3 separate regions of the Homo sapiens genome follow, and regions 1 and 2 are each linked to region 3. The links are contacts of gene promoters, found by promoter capture Hi-C in blood cells and fetal thymus (Javierre and others, 2016). All regions are on one chromosome and are shown on one strand. Each heading gives the region's core, a stretch centred on a gene start or on the middle of the fragment in contact. The rest is flanking DNA. Distances are from core to core; before and after follow the strand shown. Region 1 holds the start of VHL (von Hippel-Lindau tumor suppressor). Region 2 overlaps FANCD2 (FA complementation group D2). Region 3 holds the start of LINC00852 (long intergenic non-protein coding RNA 852).

Region 1 (2,700 bases), core at 201-2,700, 140 kb before region 3:
CAGCCTGGGTGATAAAGCGAGACTGTCTAAAAAAAAATTATTTTTAACTAATATAAAACTCTCTGAACCCTTCTTTTTCTGAGCTGCTTCTCCACTTGAGTCCATCCCACATCATTGAACATTTAATTACACAGAATTGTGTACCATCTTCCTTGACCCCCAGATCTTTAGCCTTCTATAGTACCCTGTCTCTTTTTGTCGTACTAGTCACAGTTGCACTTTTTTTTTTTTTTTTTTTGAGACAGAGTCTCATTCTGTCACCCAGGCTGCAGTGCAGTAGCACAATCTCAGCTCACTGCAACCTCCGCCTCCCGGGTTCAAGCAATTCTCCTGCCTCAGCCTCCTAAGTAGCTGGGATTACATGCGCGCACCACCACGCCAGGCTAATTTTTGTATTTTTAGTAGAGACGAGGTTTCACCATGTTGTCAGGCTGGTCTAGAACTCCTGACCTTGTGATCAGCCCACTTCAGCCTCCCAAAGTACTGGGATTACAGGCATGAGCCACTGCACCCGGCCATAGTTGCTATTTTATTTGTGTGATTGATTACCGTATGACGCTTTTATTGAAGTGCAGTGAAGGCAGGAAACATGACCGGTTTTTACAATATTTTCAACACTTATCACCATAGGTGGTACATAGTAGGGCCTTAATAAATATTTGTAAAATGAACAAAGTTAATGAGTGTTTATGTTTGTAGTTTTAATTGCTCTGAAGTAAATATCTGATTTTCCAATTTCCACCAGAGTGCTCTGCACATAGTAGGTCTAATTATTTTTCCCTCTTTACTAATCACCCATGCCTTGTAAGAATTCAGTTAGTTGACTTTTTGTACTTTATAAGCGTGATGATTGGGTGTTCCCGTGTGAGATGCGCCACCCTCGAACCTTGTTACGACGTCGGCACATTGCGCGTCTGACATGAAGAAAAAAAAAATTCAGTTAGTCCACCAGGCACAGTGGCTAAGGCCTGTAATCCCTGCACTTTGAGAGGCCAAGGCAGGAGGATCACTTGAACCCAGGAGTTCGAGACCAGCCTAGGCAACATAGCGAGACTCCGTTTCAAACAACAAATAAAAATAATTAGTCGGGCATGGTGGTGCGCGCCTACAGTACCAACTACTCGGGAGGCTGAGGCGAGACGATCGCTTGAGCCAGGGAGGTCAAGGCTGCAGTGAGCCAAGCTCGCGCCACTGCACTCCAGCCCGGGCGACAGAGTGAGACCCTGTCTCAAAAAAAAAAAAAACACCAAACCTTAGAGGGGCGAAAAAAAATTTTATAGTGGAAATACAGTAACGAGTTGGCCTAGCCTCGCCTCCGTTACAACGGCCTACGGTGCTGGAGGATCCTTCTGCGCACGCGCACAGCCTCCGGCCGGCTATTTCCGCGAGCGCGTTCCATCCTCTACCGAGCGCGCGCGAAGACTACGGAGGTCGACTCGGGAGCGCGCACGCAGCTCCGCCCCGCGTCCGACCCGCGGATCCCGCGGCGTCCGGCCCGGGTGGTCTGGATCGCGGAGGGAATGCCCCGGAGGGCGGAGAACTGGGACGAGGCCGAGGTAGGCGCGGAGGAGGCAGGCGTCGAAGAGTACGGCCCTGAAGAAGACGGCGGGGAGGAGTCGGGCGCCGAGGAGTCCGGCCCGGAAGAGTCCGGCCCGGAGGAACTGGGCGCCGAGGAGGAGATGGAGGCCGGGCGGCCGCGGCCCGTGCTGCGCTCGGTGAACTCGCGCGAGCCCTCCCAGGTCATCTTCTGCAATCGCAGTCCGCGCGTCGTGCTGCCCGTATGGCTCAACTTCGACGGCGAGCCGCAGCCCTACCCAACGCTGCCGCCTGGCACGGGCCGCCGCATCCACAGCTACCGAGGTACGGGCCCGGCGCTTAGGCCCGACCCAGCAGGGACGATAGCACGGTCTGAAGCCCCTCTACCGCCCCGGGGTCCATTTTGCAGACGGGGAACTGAGGCCCCTTGAGGCAGGACACATCCAGGGTGACGCTGCTCGTAAGCGTCAGAGCATTCTTTTTTTTTTTTTTTTTTTTCTGAGACGGAGTCTCGCTCTGTCGCCCAGGCTGGAGTGCAGTGGCGCGATCTCGACTCACTGCAGCCTCCGCCTCCCGGGTTCAAGCGATTCTCCTGCCTCAGCCTCCTGAGTAGCTGGGATTACAGGCGTGCGCCACCGCGCCCGGCTGATTTTTATATTTTTAGTAGAGACGGGGTTTCACCATGTTGGTCAGGCTGGTCTCGAACTGCTGACCTCGTGATCCGCCCGCCTCGGCCTCCCAAAGTGCTGGGCTTATGGGCATGAGCCTCCGCGCCCGGCCCAGAGCATTCTTTATAAGGCCGAATAGTTTGCATTTGAAGGTGGCTCCCCCCAGTCCCCCACCCCACGTGTATTTTCCCCTCAAAGAAAAGCTGCATCCTTAACACCCCATCTGTTCAGTCCTCATGACTCCAGTGGGCCAGTTCTGCGTAGTCCCTGCCCTCGTGGAGAACACATTCCTCCTGGGGAGACTGACAGATGCAAAGACAGGAACAAGCCAGGGTCATGTTGGCGCCGGAAGAGCCGACCGTGTGTGGCGTGGGAAATTGACTTACCTGCCTGCTGGGAGATGGAGGGGTTGCGGTTGTGTGGTTTCAGTTAAGGAGCACTTCCCGGAGAAGGAAGAGAGCAGGATGGAGTAGGAACTAGCCAACCCTAGGTAAGA
Region 2 (2,778 bases), core at 243-2,742, 210 kb before region 3:
GAGAAAATATTTGCAAACTATGTATCTGACAAGGGACTAATAACTGGAATATATAAAGATAGGAAAAAAAATTATTCGGATTGAAAAATGGGTAAAAGGTCTGAATAGACATTTCTCAAAAGAAGACATACAAATAGTGGATATGTGAAAAGGTGCTCAACATCACTGAGCCTCAGAGAAATGCAAATCAAAACTGCCATGTGATGTCATCTCACCCTAGTTAAGATGCCTCTCCCCCTCCCCCTCCCCCTCCCCCTCTCCCGTCTCCCTCTGATGCCGAGCCAAAGCTGGACTGTACTGCTGCCATCTCGGCTCACTGCAACCTCCCTGCCTGATTCTCCTGCCTCAGCCTGCCGAGTGCCTGCGATTGCAGGCGCGCGCCGCCACGCCTGACTGGTTTTCGTACTTTTTTGGTGGAGACGGGGTTTCGCTGTGTTGGCCGGGCCGGTCTCCAGCTCCTAACCGCGAGTGATCCGCTAGCCTCAGCCTCCCGAGGTGCCGGGATTGCAGACGGAGTCTGGTTCACTCAGTGCTCAATGGTGCCCAGGCTGGAGTGCAGTAGCGTGATCTCGGCTCGCTACAACCTCCACCTCCCAGCCACCTGCCTTGGCCTCCCAAAGTGCCGAGATTGCAGCCTCTGCCCGGCCGCCACCCCGTCTGGGAAGTGAGGAGCGTCTCTGCCTGGCCGCCCATCGTCTGGGATGTGAGGAGCCTCTCTGCCAGGCTGCCCAGTCTGGAAAGTGAGGAGCGTCTCTGCCCGGCCGCCATCCCATCTAGGAAGTGAGGAGCGTCTCTGCCCGGCCACCCATCGTCTGAGATGTGGGGAGCGCCTCTGCCCCACCGCCCCGTCTGGGATGTGAGGAGCGCCTCTGCCCGGCCGCGACCCCGTCTGGGAGGTGAGGAGCGTCTCTGCCCGGCTGCCCCGTATGAGAAGTGAGGAGACCCTCCGCCCGGCAACCGCCCCGTCTGAGAAGTGAGGAGCCCCTCTGCCCGGCAGCCGCCCCATCTGAGAAGTGAGGAGTCCCTCCGCCCGGCAGCCACCCTGTCTGGGAAGTGAGGAGCGTCTCCGCCCGGCAGCCACCCCGTCCGGGAGGGAGGTGGGGGTCAGGCCCCGCCAGGCCAGCCGCCCCGTCCGGGAGGGAGGTCAGGGGGTCAGCCCCCCGCCCGGCCAGCTGCCCCGTCCGGGAGGTGAGGGGCGCCTCTGCCCAGCCGCCCCTACTGGGAAGTGAGGAGCTCCTCTGCCGGGCCAGCCTCCCGGTCCGGGAGGGAGGTGGGGGGGGTCAGCCCCCTGTCCGGCCAGCCGCCCCGTCCGGGAGGTGAGGGGCGCCTCTGCCCGGCCGCCCCTACTGGGAAGTGAGGAGCCCCTCTGCCCGGCCACCACCCCGTCTGGGAGGTGTACCCAACAGCTCATTGAGAACAGGCCGGGATGACAATGGCGGTTTTGTGGAATAGAAAGGGGGGAAAGGTGGGGAAAAGATTGAGAAATCGGATGGTTGCCGTGTCTGTGTAGAAAGAAGTAGACATGGGAGACTTTTCATTTTGTTCTGTACTAAGATAAATTCTTCTGCCTTGGGATCCTGTTGATCGGTGACCTTACCCCCAACCCTGTGCTCTCTGAAACATGTGCTGTGTCCACTCAGGGTTAAATGGATTAAGGGCGGTGCAAGATGTGCTTTGTTAAACAGATGCTTGAAGGCAGCATGCTTGTTAAGAATCATCACCACTCCCTAATCTCAAGTACCCAGGGACACAAACACTGCGGAAGGCCGCAGGGTCCTCTGCCTAGGAAAACCAGAGACCTTTGTTCACTTGTTTATCTGCCGACCTTCCCTCCACTATTGTCCTATGACCCTGCCAAATCCCCCTCTGCGAGAAACACCCAAGAATGATCGATAAAAAAAAAAAAAGAAAAAAAGAAAAAAAAAAAAAGATGGCTTTTATCCAAAGGACAGGCAATAACAGATGCTGGTGAGAATATGGAGAAAAGAGAACCTTTGTACACTGTTGGTGGGAATGTCAATTAGTACAAGCACTATGGAGAACAGTTTGGAGTTTCCTCAAAAAACTAAAAATAGAATCACCATATGATCCAGGAATGCCACTGGTAGGTATATACCCAAAAGAAAGGAAATCAGTATACCAAGGAGATATCTGCACTCCCATGTTTATTGCAGCACTATTCACAATAGTCAAGATTTGGAAGCAACCTAAGTGTCCATCAGCGGGTGAATGGATAAAATGTGGTCCGTATACACAATGGAGTACTATTCAGCCATAAAAAACAATGAGATCCTGTTGTTTGCAACAATACAGATGGAACTGGAGGACATTATGTTAAGTGAAATAGGCCAGGCACAACATATTTTCACATATTTGTGGGAGCTGAAAATTAAAATAATTTAACTCATGGAGATAGAGTAGAAGTATGGTTACCAGAGGCTGGGGAGGGTAATGGTGGTTGGGGGACTGGGAAAAATGAGGGTGGTTAATAGCTTCAAAAATATAATTAGATAGAATGAATAAGATCTAGTTGTTTTTGTATTTTTGAGATGGAGTCTCGCTCTGTCACCCAGGCTGGAGTGCAGTGGCACAGTCTCGGCTTACTGCGACCTCTGCCTCCTGGGTTCAAGCAATTCTCCTGCCTCAGCCTCCTGAGTAGCCGGGACTAGAAGTGTGCACCACCACACCCAGCTAATTTTTGTACTTTTGGTGCAGATGGGGTTTCACCGTGTTGGCCGGGCTTGTCTCGAACTCCTGACCTCAAGTGATCCACCTTCC
Region 3 (2,788 bases), core at 238-2,737:
TGACTGGCTAATTTTTTTTTTTTTAAATTTTAAGTAGAGATGAGATTTTGCCATGTTGGCCTGTTTGGCCTTATACTCCTCATCTCAGGTGATCCACCTGCCTCGGCCCCCCAAATGCCAGTGACATTTGTAGGTGGATTCAGATTAAGGTGGGTAGCTTAGTTGAGGCGTCTCAACCCTTTTCTGTGCACTCTCTCAAGATGATTTCTGAACACACAACTATAAGTGCATGAGAACTTAAATACGTGTGCTCTTATGCTAATTATACACAAAGTAAAAGTTTTTTCACAAGGAGAATTTTTTTCTCCAGCAAATAGCTCGCTCACCCTAGGGGTACATACACCCCACTTTAGAGACCCTCAAGTTACAGTGGTATCATTAAACGATCCATAAAGGAGTGGGTTTAAGAAAGCTGATACAGGAACATGTTTGAAATAATACATTTTCTCAAGGGTGTCCTCCAACCATTTTCTTTGATAAATTATATTTCTGCCCATTGTTGACTTGAAATTGTCCTCACCCCTCTACCAAGTTCACCCAGTGTATTCTGAAGGAAAATGAATGAATATGGAAACCTCTCTCATCCTAGGCAGTAGAGCGAGGGAAGCTGCACTGGCTGAGAGGCTGTGGAACCGGATGAAAAAGCAGCCCCTGAGTCCTGTGGCGTTGGCTGTGAGTCGGCCACGTGCTTGCTGTGTGCTTTAGGAAAGTTACTTAATTTCTCTGAGCTTTAGTTTTCTCCCTCATAAGTAGGCTTGCTGTGAAAATGAAGTGAAATCACATTAATCTGCATGAGCATTTAACACGGTGCCTGGTGTACATCAGGGGTGTGACAGTGAGTGCTGGCTGCTGTAGTAATTGAATGCTTAGCTACGTGCCGGGCCCTTTGCCAGCTACAGCTCATGTGAGACCTCATGTTCAGTCTTGGCAGTAACCCAGCAAGGTAGGCATTTTACATGTGAGGAGCCTGAGAAATTCAGTCTTGGCCTGGATCACAGAGCTGGTATCCAAATTCAGGTCCGAGGCCAAAGCCCAGATCTTTGCACTACACCTTGTTGCCTGGCACAGGTGAGAGTGCCCAGCCCATAGTGGGTGCGCAATATCTGTTTCTATTTGAATGACCCAGGCAGGCGGTTAATAATGCTTGTGATTTCTTTGAGAGAGAAGTAAGTTCTTGTCTTTGGTGGGGGAAGCATCAGGTGACCAGCATTTGTCCAGAGCCTGGTACCCATCCTCTCCCAAGCCCAATCAGTGGTGCTTTCTCAAAAAGAAACCATCTCCTGACCACTTTGGCCATATTGGGCCTTTGCTCCTCTTCTGTAGCTATTGATAAGAGGGCTGTGGGCAGTTAGTGATAATCAAGGTCGTATCCCAACTAAGTGACAGAGCTGAGACAGTTAAGTTCCAGGACAAGTGTGTTGATCTCTGTACCCACTTGTGCCAGGTGCCTGGGGAGGTAGGGGCATGGCTGTCTGAGGGTGGAGGGGTGAGTAGGGGGCCTGCAGTGTGCTGTGACGCCTGGGAAGGGGATTCTAAGCCATTTCCCATCAGCCGTTTACTAAGTAGCCTGGGGATCTTGTTAAAATGCAGATCCTGATAGATTAGGGCTGGGGTGCTGCCCAAGATTCTACATTTCTAAGAGTCCCTGGATGACGGTGGCATTCACAGACCACAGCTTCTATGTGAGGGAGAGCAGTTGGGTTTCTGTCTGCCTGCCGCACCTGATCAGTAGTTAGTGCCTGCATGTGTGGCGGCCAGAATTTTACTTGGGGAGACGCTCGGCTCCTAGCACCCTCTGTGGTAGGGGTTTTCCAGAGTGTGGGCATTACCCCAACTGTCTCTGCAGACGGCTTCCTGCATGTTTCCCACAAGCGCTCAGATGGCTGAATTGGCAAGTCTGTGGTGCTGCTCTTTGGGGCCACCTCGTTCTTTGCCTTTCCCTCCCCTTAGCGATGTGTCCCATCCGTTGCCTACAGTCAAGTCAGTCCACATGTTTAGGCTAAGGTGGGCATGACCGAGTGGCCTTCCCCCGGGAAGACCAGTGTCGTAACTGGAATTAAGTTGTGGAACATAAGAGTCAAGGCTCGTGTCTGCTGTGAACTGGAGTTGAGGGAATGTTTGGGGATCCCACCTGGTATCAGTAAGGGAACCATGGCGACGGCCAGCCTTGCCCATGTGAGGCATTTGCTTTGTCAGGCCTTCTCAGTAGTGGAGAAGGGAGGAAGGAGAATGCAGCTCTTTCAGTGCTGTCTAGCAGTGCCCAAGAGCCGTGATTGGGCACCTCACTTAACGTCTAACTTCAGATTCACTCTTGGGCATTCCTGTCTTCCTCTCCAATCTTGAATGGATGTTGGCTTCGATAATGTCATCCTGAAGTTTCTTTGTCCACACAGCCCTGGCTGGTTGTTAATAAGCTGTTAATGCAGCCTTGCACTCAGGAAGCCCTGATGTTTAAAGGAACTGTGTCTTTGTTCTTCCTCTCTTCCCTCTTTCTCTTAGTCCCACTTTATCTCTTCTTTCTCTTCCTCTCCCTCCTCCTTTTCCCCTCTCCCTCCTACTCTCCCCCTTTCTCTCCTCCTTCTCTAAGAAACCCAGTCTTAATTCCACACAATGCATGCACATGCAGTAGCTTCTCTGCTTGAGTGAGCTGGTGTGATTAGGTTTTCTAAACATGCACATTGGCCTTGCTACTTGTCCTTTTATTCCCTTCCCACAGACCATAAACCAAGAATTATTTTTATTTGTATTATTTTGATTTTTTTAAAGTAAAATATTAACTTTTCCTCTT

Evidence for each region. The method cuts DNA at HindIII sites, captures the fragments that hold promoters and counts their contacts. A CHiCAGO score of 5 or more calls a contact.
Region 1: the fragment with the promoter of VHL here is called in contact with the fragment with the promoter of LINC00852 in region 3 in 4 of 17 cell types (activated CD4 T cells, non-activated CD4 T cells, naive CD4 T cells and 1 more); the score reaches 9.1 in activated CD4 T cells.
Region 2: a contact is called between a fragment that was not itself captured here and the fragment with the promoter of LINC00852 in region 3, in 3 of 17 cell types (activated CD4 T cells, megakaryocytes and naive CD8 T cells). The highest score is 6.2, in activated CD4 T cells.

Annotation. Positions count from the first base shown.
Region 1 is chr3:10,140,328-10,143,027 of GRCh38, forward strand. It overlaps VHL (von Hippel-Lindau tumor suppressor), which reads left to right and starts at 1,451. Exons shown (of 3, transcript NM_000551.4): 1 at 1,451-1,860. The coding sequence starts at 1,521. It also overlaps the pseudogene LOC124906359. RefSeq lists an enhancer at 2,368-2,700. The HindIII fragment of the contact is 16,438 bases long and covers 1-2,700 here.
Region 2 is chr3:10,069,232-10,072,009 of GRCh38, forward strand. The region is part of intron 26 of FANCD2 (FA complementation group D2); the gene reads left to right. Among named protein-coding and RNA genes, the nearest start is that of FANCD2OS, 38 kb to the right of the region's middle. RefSeq lists an enhancer at 992-1,956. The HindIII fragment of the contact is 4,595 bases long and covers 1-2,778 here.
Region 3 is chr3:10,282,932-10,285,719 of GRCh38, forward strand. It overlaps LINC00852 (long intergenic non-protein coding RNA 852), which reads left to right and starts at 1,488. Exons shown (of 1, transcript NR_026829.1): 1 at 1,488-2,788. It overlaps GHRL (ghrelin and obestatin prepropeptide), which reads right to left. Exons shown (of 6, transcript NM_016362.5): 6 at 2,735-2,788. GHRLOS (ghrelin opposite strand/antisense RNA) reads left to right here. Exons shown (of 6, transcript NR_073568.1): 2 at 590-672. The HindIII fragment of the contact is 4,911 bases long and covers 1-2,788 here.